Linked DNA regions of Homo sapiens: all the other regions are linked to region 2. The links are contacts of gene promoters, found by promoter capture Hi-C in human tissues and cell types (Jung and others, 2019). All regions are on one chromosome and are shown on one strand. Each heading gives the region's core, a stretch centred on a gene start or on the middle of the fragment in contact. The rest is flanking DNA. Distances are from core to core; before and after follow the strand shown.

Evidence for each region. Contacts are between HindIII fragments. The study calls those that stand out against the background at their distance.
Region 1: a contact is called between a fragment that was not itself captured here and the fragment with the promoter of SNTG1 in region 2, in 2 of the 25 tissues and cell types used here (IMR-90 fibroblasts and spleen).
Region 3: a contact is called between a fragment that was not itself captured here and the fragment with the promoter of SNTG1 in region 2, in 2 of the 25 tissues and cell types used here (dorsolateral prefrontal cortex and hippocampus).

Annotation. Positions count from the first base shown.
Region 1 is chr8:49,658,791-49,662,484 of GRCh38, reverse strand. No RefSeq gene overlaps it. Among named protein-coding and RNA genes, the nearest start is that of SNTG1, 250 kb to the left of the region's middle. The HindIII fragment of the contact is 3,269 bases long and covers 579-3,694 here.
Region 2 is chr8:49,909,738-49,913,428 of GRCh38, reverse strand. SNTG1 (syntrophin gamma 1) reads right to left here and starts at 2,022. Exons shown (of 19, transcript NM_018967.5): 1 at 1,198-2,022. RefSeq lists an enhancer at 2,173-3,117. The HindIII fragment of the contact is 7,737 bases long and covers 1-3,691 here.
Region 3 is chr8:50,140,036-50,143,756 of GRCh38, reverse strand. All of the region lies in intron 1 of SNTG1 (syntrophin gamma 1), which reads right to left. Among named protein-coding and RNA genes, the nearest start is that of SNTG1, 230 kb to the right of the region's middle. The HindIII fragment of the contact is 3,401 bases long and covers 668-3,721 here.

The sequences.
Region 1 (3,694 bases), core at 964-3,463, 250 kb after region 2:
TCTATGTCCTGAATATTATTGCCTAAATTTTCTTCTAGGGTTTTCAGTTTTTGGTTTTACATTTAAGTCTTTAATTCATCTTGAGTTATTTTTTATATAGGGTGTAAGAAAGGGGTCCAGTTTCAATTTTCTGCATGTGGCTGGCCAGTTCTCCCAGCACCATTTATTAAATAGAGGATTCCTTCCTCATTGCTTGTTTTTGTCAGGTTTGTCAAAGATCAGATGGTTGTAGATGTGCAGTCTTGTTTCTGAGATACCTATTCTGTTCCATTGGTCTATGTGTCTGCTTTTGTAACACTACCATGCTTTTTTGATTATTGCAGTCTTCTAGTATAGTTTGAAGTTGGGTAACATGATGCCTCCAGCTTTGTTCTTTTTACTTCAGATTGTCTTGGCTCTTCAGGCTCTTTTTTGGTTGCATATGAATTTGAAAGCATTTTTTTTTTCAAATTCTGTGAAGAATGCCAGTGATCTTTGAATGGGAATAGCATTGAATCTATAAATTACTTTGGGCAGTATGGCCATTTTCACTATATTGATCCTTCCTATCCATGAACATGCAATGTGTTTCCATTTGTTTGTGTTCTTTTTTATTTCCTTGAGTGGTGGTTTGTAGTTCTCCTTGAAGAGATCCTTCACTTCCCTTGTTAGCTGTATTCCTAGGTGCTTTATTCTCTTTTTAGCAGTTATGAATGGGAGTTCATTTATGACTTGGTTCTCTGCTTGTCTGTTGTTGCCGTATAGGAATGCTTGTGATTTTCTGCACCTTAATTTTGTATACTGAGACTGTATTACAGCTACTTTTAATTGGCCATCTTGGCCCTGATAAATTTCCCTCTTAACACTACCTTAGCTGTATCCCAGAAATTCTTGTATATCGTATCTTTGTGCTTATTAGCTTCAAAGAACTTCTTGATTTCTGCCTTAATTGCATTATTTATCCAAAAGTCAGTCAGGAGCAAGTTATTCAATTTCCATGTAATTGTGTGTAGATTTGAGTGAATTCTCAGTCTTGATTTATAATTTGATTGTGCTGTGGTCTGATTACTATGATTTCAGTTATTTTCCATTCACCAAGGAGTGTTTTGTGTCTGATGATTTGATTGATTTTAGAGTATGTGCCTTGTGGCAATGAGAAGAATGTATATTCTGTTCTTTTTGGGTGGAGAGTTCTGTAGATATCTGTCAGGTCCATCTGACCCAGTGCTGAGTTTAGGTCCTGAAAATTTTTGTTAATTTTCTACCTTAATAATATTTCTAAGCTGTTGTTGGGGTGTTTAAATCTCCCACTATGTGGGAGTCTGTGTCTTTGAAGGTGTCTAAGCATTTGCCTTATGAATCTTGGCACTTCTGTGTTGGGTGCATGTATATTTAGGATAGTTAGGTCTTGTTGAATTGAACCCTTTACCATTATGTAATGTCTTTCTTTGTCTTTTTTGATCTTTGTTGGTATAATGTCTATTTTGTCTGAAATTAGGATTGCAACTCCTGCTTTTCTCTGTTTCTCATTTGCTTGATAGATTTTTCTCCATCTCTTTATTTTGAGCTTATAGGTGTCATTGCACGAGATGGGTCTCTTGAAGACAGCACACCAATGGGTTTTAACTCTATCCAGCTTGCCACTCTGTGCCTTTTAATTTGGGCATTTAGCCCATTTACATTCAGGGTTAATACTGGTTTGTGTGTATTTGATCCTGTTATCCTGATGTTAGCTGGTTATTATGCAGACTTGTTTATGTGGTTGCTTTATAGTGTCACTGGTCTGTGTACTTCACTGTGTTTTTGTAGTGGCTGGTAATGTTCTTTCTTTTCTAGATTTAGTGCTTCTTTCAGTAGCTCTTCTAAGGCAGGTCTGTTGGTAAAAAATTCTTTCAGCATTTGCTTGTCTGAAAAACATTTTTCTCCTTTGTTTATGAAGCTTAGTTTGGCCAGATATAAAATTCTGTGTTGGAATTTCTTTTATTTAAGAATGTTGAATTTTGGCCCCCAATTTATTCTGACTTATAGGGTTACTGCTGAGACATCTGCTGTTAGTCTGATGAACTTTTCTTTGCAGATGACCTGGCTTTTCTCTCTAGCTGCCTTTAACACTTTTTCTTTCATTTTGACCTTGGAAAACCTGATGATTATGTGCCTTCAGGATGAACTTGTTGTGGAGTATCTTACTGGAGTACTATGCATTTCTTGATTTGCATGTTGGTCTCTCCAGCTAGGTTGGGCAAGTTCTTATGGATGATATCCTAAAATATGCTTTCCAAATTGCTTACACCCTCCACATGTCTTTCAGTGACATCAGTGAGTCATAGATTTGGTTTCTGAATTATTCCATACTCCTGGGAGGTTTTGTTTCTTTTCATTCCTTTTCCTTTATTCTTGTCTGACTGTTTAATTCAGAAAGTCAGTCTTTAAGCTCTGAGATGCTTTCCTGACCTGGTCCATTCTGCTGTTAATACTTGTGATTGTATTATGAAATTCTGATAGTGTATTTTTCAGTCTGTCAGGTTTGTTATGTTCTTTTCTCTACTGGCTATTTTGTCTGTCAGCTCCTGCATTGTTTTATTGTGATTCTTAGCTTCCTTGGATTGGGTTTCAATGTATTCCTGCATCTCAATGATATTTTTATATCCATTATCTGAATTCTATTTCCATCATTTCAGCCATCTCAGCCTGGTTCAAAACCCTTGCTGGAGTAGTGGTGCAGTCATTTGAAGAAAAGAAGGCACTCTGGCTTTTTGTGTTGTCAGGGTTCTTGCACTGGTTCTTTATTGTCTTTGTGGGCTTATGTTCCTTCAATCTTTGAGGCTGCTGGCCTTTGGATGTTTTTTTCTTTTATTTTGTTTGATGATTTTGAGGGTTTGATTGTCGTATAAGGTGGATTCAGACAACTGGCTTCATTTCTGGAAAATTTTAGAGGGCTCAGTTCCCAGTTCCTGGACTGCATGCTGTAACTCTGGGGGATTTGTATCAGGCCCTAACTTTGTTCTTTTGCTCCCTGATGTTAGGAATCTACTGCACTGGGTCAGAGGGCAAGGTACCCCTGGACTGCTGGTCACTTCACTCTGATGTGTTGTGTCAGCCAAAGCATTTCATAGTGGCATGACAGTGGGATCTGTACTCATTTGCACATGCCAGTAGCAGCGTCAGTGACAGCACTGTGGGGTGCACGCTCGTTGGCTGCAGCAGAGTACTAGTGCGTGCTGGGGTGCTTGCCTCATTGTGGGTGTTAACCACAGTGGTGAAGGCAATGTGGCTGGGAGGGTGGGGGGCCCCTCCTGGTGACTGTGCATGTGGCTTCACTGGTGGTTGTATTGGCACAGGGGCAAGGTGCTGGTGGGCACAGGTCTGTGCCCATTCTGTGTGTGCTGCAGGAAGGGGTAGTTTTTCAGGGCTGAGGAGGATCTGTTGTTTCTGTGCCTAGTTTAAGTTCCATGGCAGTGTTGGCACAAGGGCAGGGCACTGATGGGGGTGGGGCTGGCTGGCTCTGTGCCTGCCAAGGCTTCAACTGTAATCGTGGTTGGCAGGGAGAGGAGAGTGGACTGCACCCCCACCACAGCAGTGGCAGGGCAGGGTGCATGCACACACTCATGTTGGTGGGGCAAGAAAAGCAAGACTAATCCATGCACACATGCACTGGCAAAGTGATGTCAGGGAGTTGCTTTGGGCCCTGGGATGCTACGGTGTGGGAAAGGAGTGT
Region 2 (3,691 bases), core at 773-3,272:
TAACGGCCTCCAATGATTTTTGTGTTAAAATTGAGAAGGAAGGTACGTATAGATATGCATTAGAGCCATTTTACTATCGTTACACACAACCAGTGAAATTAAAAGTAAAACCTAAAGATCTCCTGTAATTTTTCAAAGGGGTAGACTCTTTTCACAGAGTTGATTATGAATATCTCATCACATGTATTTACATGACTGTAAAATTCCATCCTTGCAAGTCAAAACTCTTCACTGAACTGAATGTACTCATTGGAATTGATCGGATTCTTAGTGAAATGTCAGGCACGGGTTACAAATTTGTGTAACTGCTTTTGCCCAGTGAACCCTTTTTATTAAAGCAGAATGCTTATCAAGGTCACTGTGAAAGATTGTAATTTTAAAGCTCCAGGGGAAAACTAGAAATAAGAATCAACAGAAAACAGATTTAATTAGCATTTTAAAGTTTATGGTTTTTCGGGAACCTACTGGTCCCTATCACTTTCTGGATTTCACTGACAAATGTATTTTGCAGAACTAATAAGTTAGAATGATTTTGAAATCCAGCTCTCCTAAAGAGGCACACTAAAGCTTCTCATTTTCTGCTTTCTGGCAGATCAGGTTTGAGAAAGCAATCTTGAGCTTTCAAAGGCTGGAAAGAGGGTGCTAAGTAAAAATATGAGTGTCTCCTTACGTAAGATCCTACAGGTGTAGGTATACTTGGAGGTTGGCATGGAGTGAGAAATCTGGTGTATATGTATACATGTATTTGTTCCCATGCATAGTTTAGTATATTATAACAATATAAAATATGTTAGAGGGCATGGTTAAACCCTCTCTATTTTAACTTTTTTAGTCTTGCATACTATGTAACACAGACAGGATCACTTTTTATGGCATACATAAGACAACAAAATTATCTTGCCAAACGATTGCATTAGTTTTGGGAAAAAATAAACAAGATATGCCAGATCCAAAAAGATATTAGATAAGCAATAAGAAAAATGGCCAGCTAAAAGTTTACTGTAATTATGTAAGGCAACATGTATGTTATTTTGATTCTTCTTGTCACACAATGATCCAGAAACAATTATTTTAAAACAAAATTGCTTGTCTCCTCGTTAACCCCAGAAAAAATTACACTGCTTATGATCTTTCTGTTAAACCATAAGACAAGTCATTAGAATTTTAAAAAACAAAAATAATAGCGCTATCACTTACCTGCCGAGCAATGAAATTAGATGTCTTTTCAGTCTCTCTAACGTAGAATTTTGAGTAGCTCTCCACCCTCTTTTCACAAAGCTATTTCCAAAACAGTTGCAATCCACTCAAGACCATTCTGTTTATTTCAAGAAGTGTGGACCTTTGAGCATTTCAACCCCTACCGCACGGCCCATGATTTCTCAGAGCTTCTAAGAACTTCGACTTTACTCTCCTCCAGAATTCCTCCCAGACCCCTATAGAAAAATGATTCTTGAAGTTGCTGCTGAGAGTTTAATCTGTGGAGCAAGAGTACTCCTCAGAGTCCTGTCCTTAGGTACAGCAGGTGTAGAGGGAGGGGTACTTTTCATCCATTAAGGAAGGGGGCCGGGAGGCGAGGGGGTAATAGGAGGCACCGCCTTTTAGCTGCGAGGAGCAAGTAGCCCAGCTGCCCGTGGCGACGACAGTGGCGGCAAGGACAGCGGCGGCGGCAGCGTAGTTCCGTCCCTGTGGCTGCAGCTCAGTCCGGAGACGCTGTCCATCCCCTCTGGTGCTGAAGTAAGGGGACGGGAGCCCCTAAGCGCAGGTCCAGGTCGCACTTTCCTCCACCAGCGAATCCAAGCAGCAGCTTCCTTGTCTTCCGCCCTAGCCTTCTCCCCTCCGGTTCTTTTTTTTTTCTTTTTTCTTTCTTTTTTTTTTTTGTAGGGGCTAATTGTTTCTCCAAATTAACAGTCTCATACTTATTTGGTGACAACGTTTCTGGAAAAACAGGAATCCCTGGGAAATAACATCTGAGCCTCCCCTGACTTTTCAGTGGCCCTGCACGAGTTTCCTAATGCCAGAAATGAAAGAAAACGCACGCACAGGGGCGCGCACATACACGCACGAGAGAGGCAGAGAGAGAGAGAGAGGAAGAGAGAGAAAAAATATATAGATTTGTACCGTGGAAAATCCAGAGCTTCTTTGGAAAGCTCGTGGATCTTTAATTACATAAGATGAAAAGGAATATTTTGGAAAACTCCGCAATCTTGATTACCAATTAAGGGGACCACATTCAAATTTTGAGAAACCCAATTTGAAATTCCTAAATTAAACCCAGTGAAGATTCTTAGACCCTCCACGCGGAAACGATAGGTTATTGTTAAAATTTTAAAAGACAGAGAATGAAAGAATGAAAAAGACAGGAAAAAGCATCTGCACTCGGCTACCTTTTAAAACGCTGCTGAATTGGATCGGGATCGTTGCAGAGCCTCTCAGAGGATCCGGCGAACGCAGCTCCTGTGAGTGTCAGCGCTGAGCTCAGCGAGCAGGCAGCTTGGAGGCCCAGGGCAGTGCTAGCGAGTCGCCCACAGCCTAGGCTCCTGCAGTGGGGGCAGAAAACGGCTTATTTCACAAAGGACGGGATAAAGAAGGCACAAAGACAGTCAGAGGGCTCGACAATCTCTGCCTTTGTAAAGCCAGAGCAAAGCCCAATTTACGTTGTTTTTTTTGTTGGCTTTTCAGCCCATTTTCCCTCTGGTCTCCCACGCTGCCCCCTCGCCTCCCTACTCCGGAATCCGCGCTCTCCCGGGCCTTGCAGGCTCTTCACTCCCGCTCTTGGCAACTGGCTGACAACGAGCATAAAGAAGGGTATGGGTGCGTGGTCCCGAGTGCTGTCACCCAGGGCTCAGCCACCCACACTCGGCAACGGGTGCAGACGCCAGTGAACTGAGACGGGAAGTTGAAATACATAACGTTGAAACTGTTGGAAAACTGGTCAAAACCAGGGCCATGTGGACCTTTGAAACTATGTGGAGTAAAAGGGGAAAATGGAAAGAGCGAGACTGTAACACCGCCCGCCCTTGCAGACTCCTAACTTGTGCAGTGTAGATTTCTGCACAAGGAGGTTATTGATAGACATGAGAGGAAATTCGAGAAAGACTGGTGAGGGGCGCTGGTGTGTGTGGTGGGGACGGGGGTCCGGGAGGGGCGGGGCGCAACACTAATTTCTCCCGGGCTGTGGGAAGGGGCCGGACGCCTGCTCCTGGCCTCCCTTCCCCGGCGACTTCTCAGGTTCTTCTTCCTGTTCTGACACTACAGGGAAGTCCTAGACGTTGTGCTTTCCTCCCACGCTTGCTTCCATCAAGGATTAGAGCGCGTTCCCGCTGGTCTGGAACCATCCATTCCAGGTAGGGGATCTTCCCTCCCGGGGACATTGCGCTCTCCAAGCACCGGCCTGCGGCGCGCGCGGGGGACGGGCGAGGAGGCGGCACAGCCAGTGGAGTTCCAGTGGGCTCCCTGGAGGAGAAACGTTACTGAGCCGGGAATCACTCGGGACGGAAAACCAAACAGGCCGCGTATTTACTCACAGGAAAAGGCCAGACTTTGGTTGGACTTTGAGCCATTTTGCTGCAGCAGCAACGGCTTTATTTCCCTGGGGTGGCCACCAGCCGCCACCGCGGCTCGCGAGCTCCGGCTGGAAGGGGCCGCGCTGTGCTCCGCACATTGCAGGCCGCGGTCGCTGTGTGGAGCTGCA
Region 3 (3,721 bases), core at 1,119-3,618, 230 kb before region 2:
GTGACATATCCATTATACTAAAATACACTCTAAAATTAAACCAGACCAACAGAGTTATGCGCCCAAACAGTAACATATTGGTTCTTTCTAAATTGCTTTTACAGACTGCTTGCTAAGTGATTCTTATCAAACTTGCATCTGAGCAAATGTTATGCATATGTATGTTTAAAAGTACGAGACTATCTGGCACAGTTTGGTGGAAAAGAGTATCCATAGACACTTGAAAAGTGATGTTTCTAATATGAATAAGTCTTTAATACACAGAAGCAATTTCTGCTACACCAGTTACTATTTGTCACCCTAGTTAGGAAATATTTTCTAGAGTCATCCCTTCCACTGCTAAAATATAATTGTATTCCCCATTTCCATTCAGTATTTTAATGCCAAGGGAGGATAAGGAACAAACACAACGTTTTTCTCAATAAAAATTTAGTAGTACAAAATATAGCAAGGCAAAACTTGAAAACTAGACAGGAAATTTCACCTCAGACAGAAAGTGATATTATTGTGAGTATTGGAAATCAGAAACATGTAAACAAATGTCCCACTAGAACATTTCCCACATGGAACATTCTGTCAGGTCGACACAGCATGGCCATATAATGTAATTGTTCTGGGTAATGGGAGACACTATGGACTTTATTTATTTTTTATTTTTATTTATTTATTTATTTATTTATTTTGAGATGGAGTCTTGCTCTGGCCCCCAGGCTGGAGTGCAGTGGAGTGATCTCGACTTATTGCAACATCCATCTCCTGGGTTCAGGCGATTCTCATGTCTCAGCCTCCCGAGTAGCTGGGTCTACAGGTGCCCGCCACCAGACCCAGCTAATTTTTTTGTATTTTTAGTAAAGATGGGGTTTCACTATGTTGGCCAGGCTGGTTTCAAACTCCTGACCTCAGGTGATCCACCCGCCTTGGCCTCCCAAAGTGTTGGGATTACAGGTGTAAGCCACCACACTGGTCATGGACTTTATTTTTAATTTGTCTTGCTTTTGCAAAATTTCAGTGAGAGGTTTTAACATGATGAAATACATCCATCAACCTGTATTCATATGCTTGTAACACTTGTATAAAGTAAAAATGCAAGCCATTAGAAAATTTTACTTCATTTACCATCAGCTTCTTTAACAAAACCTTATCTCTTCCTGAATAAACCTAACTACAATGTTATCAACATTCATTTTACTTCTGGTTACCTTTTCTTAAAAAATAAATAAATTCTCTCACTTAACCAACTGCTTGATTCATTCAACCCAAATATATATATATATATATATAATCTTTTTAATTGCAGGTTTGTGTTAAAAAGTAAAAAGCAAAATTTTTATGTTTGCTATGAAATTCCTTGTGAATTCTTCTTCAAGCTCCTACTCTCTTCCTCACTTTTCTTTGTTTATAGCTCCTCTGTTATAAACTTTATGTCCTTGTATTATAAATCATATTATATCCTTCATCTTAACTGTAGTCTGGGTTTCTGTAGAAAACACACAGAGGAATTCATTCTTGTGTTCCCAGATCTTGTAAAATGCCTGTCGTGGGAAGTGTTTAAGAAATGTATGTTTTCTGGCTAAATAACTTTAAAAATGTTTAGATAACAATATTACAGCTATACTATAAAATATCATGAAGCCATAAGAAACAATTAGGTAAACCTACAAACATACACAATTATAGTGACCCAGAAAGAAATGTCATAACATTTAAAGATAAAAAGTAAGTTATAGAAAAATAGAGTGTGAGCTGATTTTGCAATAATAGGTGTCAATATAAATAATTTGTATCTATGTGTGAGTGTGTGTGTAATAGTTATATGCCATTGTAAAGGATGACAAATAATGAAACACACATATATATGCCCAGCTTTTATTTTCTTTTATTTTCAATATTATTAAATTATAAATATACATAATTATGCATTATGAAACCTTAACTGAATCTTTATCATGAGATATGTTATTGGTTCCTTGTGGTCCTCTAATTCTTTCTCTGTAGATCTATCTAGTAGAACATTTATACAACATGTTGTAAGGCATTAAACTTACATTTTCACCCTCCACTAAATTAAGAATTCTCTAAGGTGGATTTCATGTCATTTTGTTGTTGTCATTGCTGTGTATCTTAATGATCACATAGTAACTAATGTGTTTCAGATACTCAAAATGTTCCATTTTAAATGGATAAATAATTATATGGAAGCTTAATTAGCTAACCTTCCTAGCACATGTCCATTTTTGCACATATTCATATCTCTCATTGCAAGCGTTTAGGTAGGTTTGAACCATTAGTAGTCACAATTTTTGTTTATTAATCATTAGGAAAATGCTAATTAAACCCAAGATGTGGAACAATTGCACACCTACTAGAATTCTGGAAATTAAAAACAAAAGTGAAACAAATGAAAAAATGCAGACTAAGGGTTGGCAAGGATGAAGAGCTGAAGCTCTTACAGGTTGCTGGTGGGCATTCAGAGGTATCTTATGAAGTTCAACATGCACTTACCATCTGATGTAGCAATCCTGCACTTACTATCTGATCTGGCAATCCTATTCCCATATATTTAAGTAAGAAAGTTGAAAAGAGACATTCATAGGAAGACCTGCCTAAAACGTGAACAGCAGGCTAATTCATAATCAGCGAAACCTGGAGACTCCATGTATCTTTCAAGTGATCACTGAAGAAACACATTTTCATGCATTCTTACAGAGTTTCTGTTCCAGTGGGTCTGGTGTGGGCCAAATAATTTGAATTTCTATCAAGTTTCCAGGGGATGTTAAAGCCGTTGCTTTGGAAACCAGACAATGAGCACACTGATTTAGAATATAATTAGTAAAGAGCTTAGATGGTTGCTCCCTCAACCTACTTCTTTATAATGGAACCAATGTATACAAGTATTTGTACAATGATGTGTGAGGTGAGATGAAAACAATCTCCCTGTTTCCAAAATGACCATGTTTTAAAGATGATCCAGAAAGATCCTCCCATAAAGAAGGAATGAAGATAGATATGTCAAAATATGAACTTAATGCTTTAAGCATTTAAAATGAAAGACAAGTGAGGTTGGCACTTGGTCTCTGCAGGCCAAGGGGGAGTTTGTATTATGTATGTGCACACACACTCAAAAACACACTCACACCCACCCATCCACATTCAGACTTACATCCACATACTATAAACATTCACACATACACACTAACATGAACATTCTCATACACAGTTTCTAACACTCATACCCACACTGACCACACCACATAAAATACACACACATTCTCGCAAACACACACACTCTTACACCCACATACACATACATAAGGCATATACACACCGTACATACACACTCTCTTTCAGACACACACATGTTCAAGATGAACCAGAATGGGAAATCTGGCTGAGAAAGGAAGCATCACCTTTAGCAGTTCATTAGGCTCAGAAGAAGACTGAACATGGATACAACTGGAAAGATGCAATGCCATGTGTGACAATGTGGGATCCTTCCAGAAACCCTTCTCAACTACAATAACAATAGTGGAATCAGTTGACCCCTCTTTAAATGTTAGATTTCTGTCTCACACTTCTTGATTTCCAGCATCACACAGAACAAAGATTTGCCTCATCAGTGCTTATTGGTTGATTGATTATTTTTTATCAAATAAACTGGGACCTTACAGAACAATATATTATCTTCATGACATTGCAAGTTTCGCGGCCATTTACTCCAGCA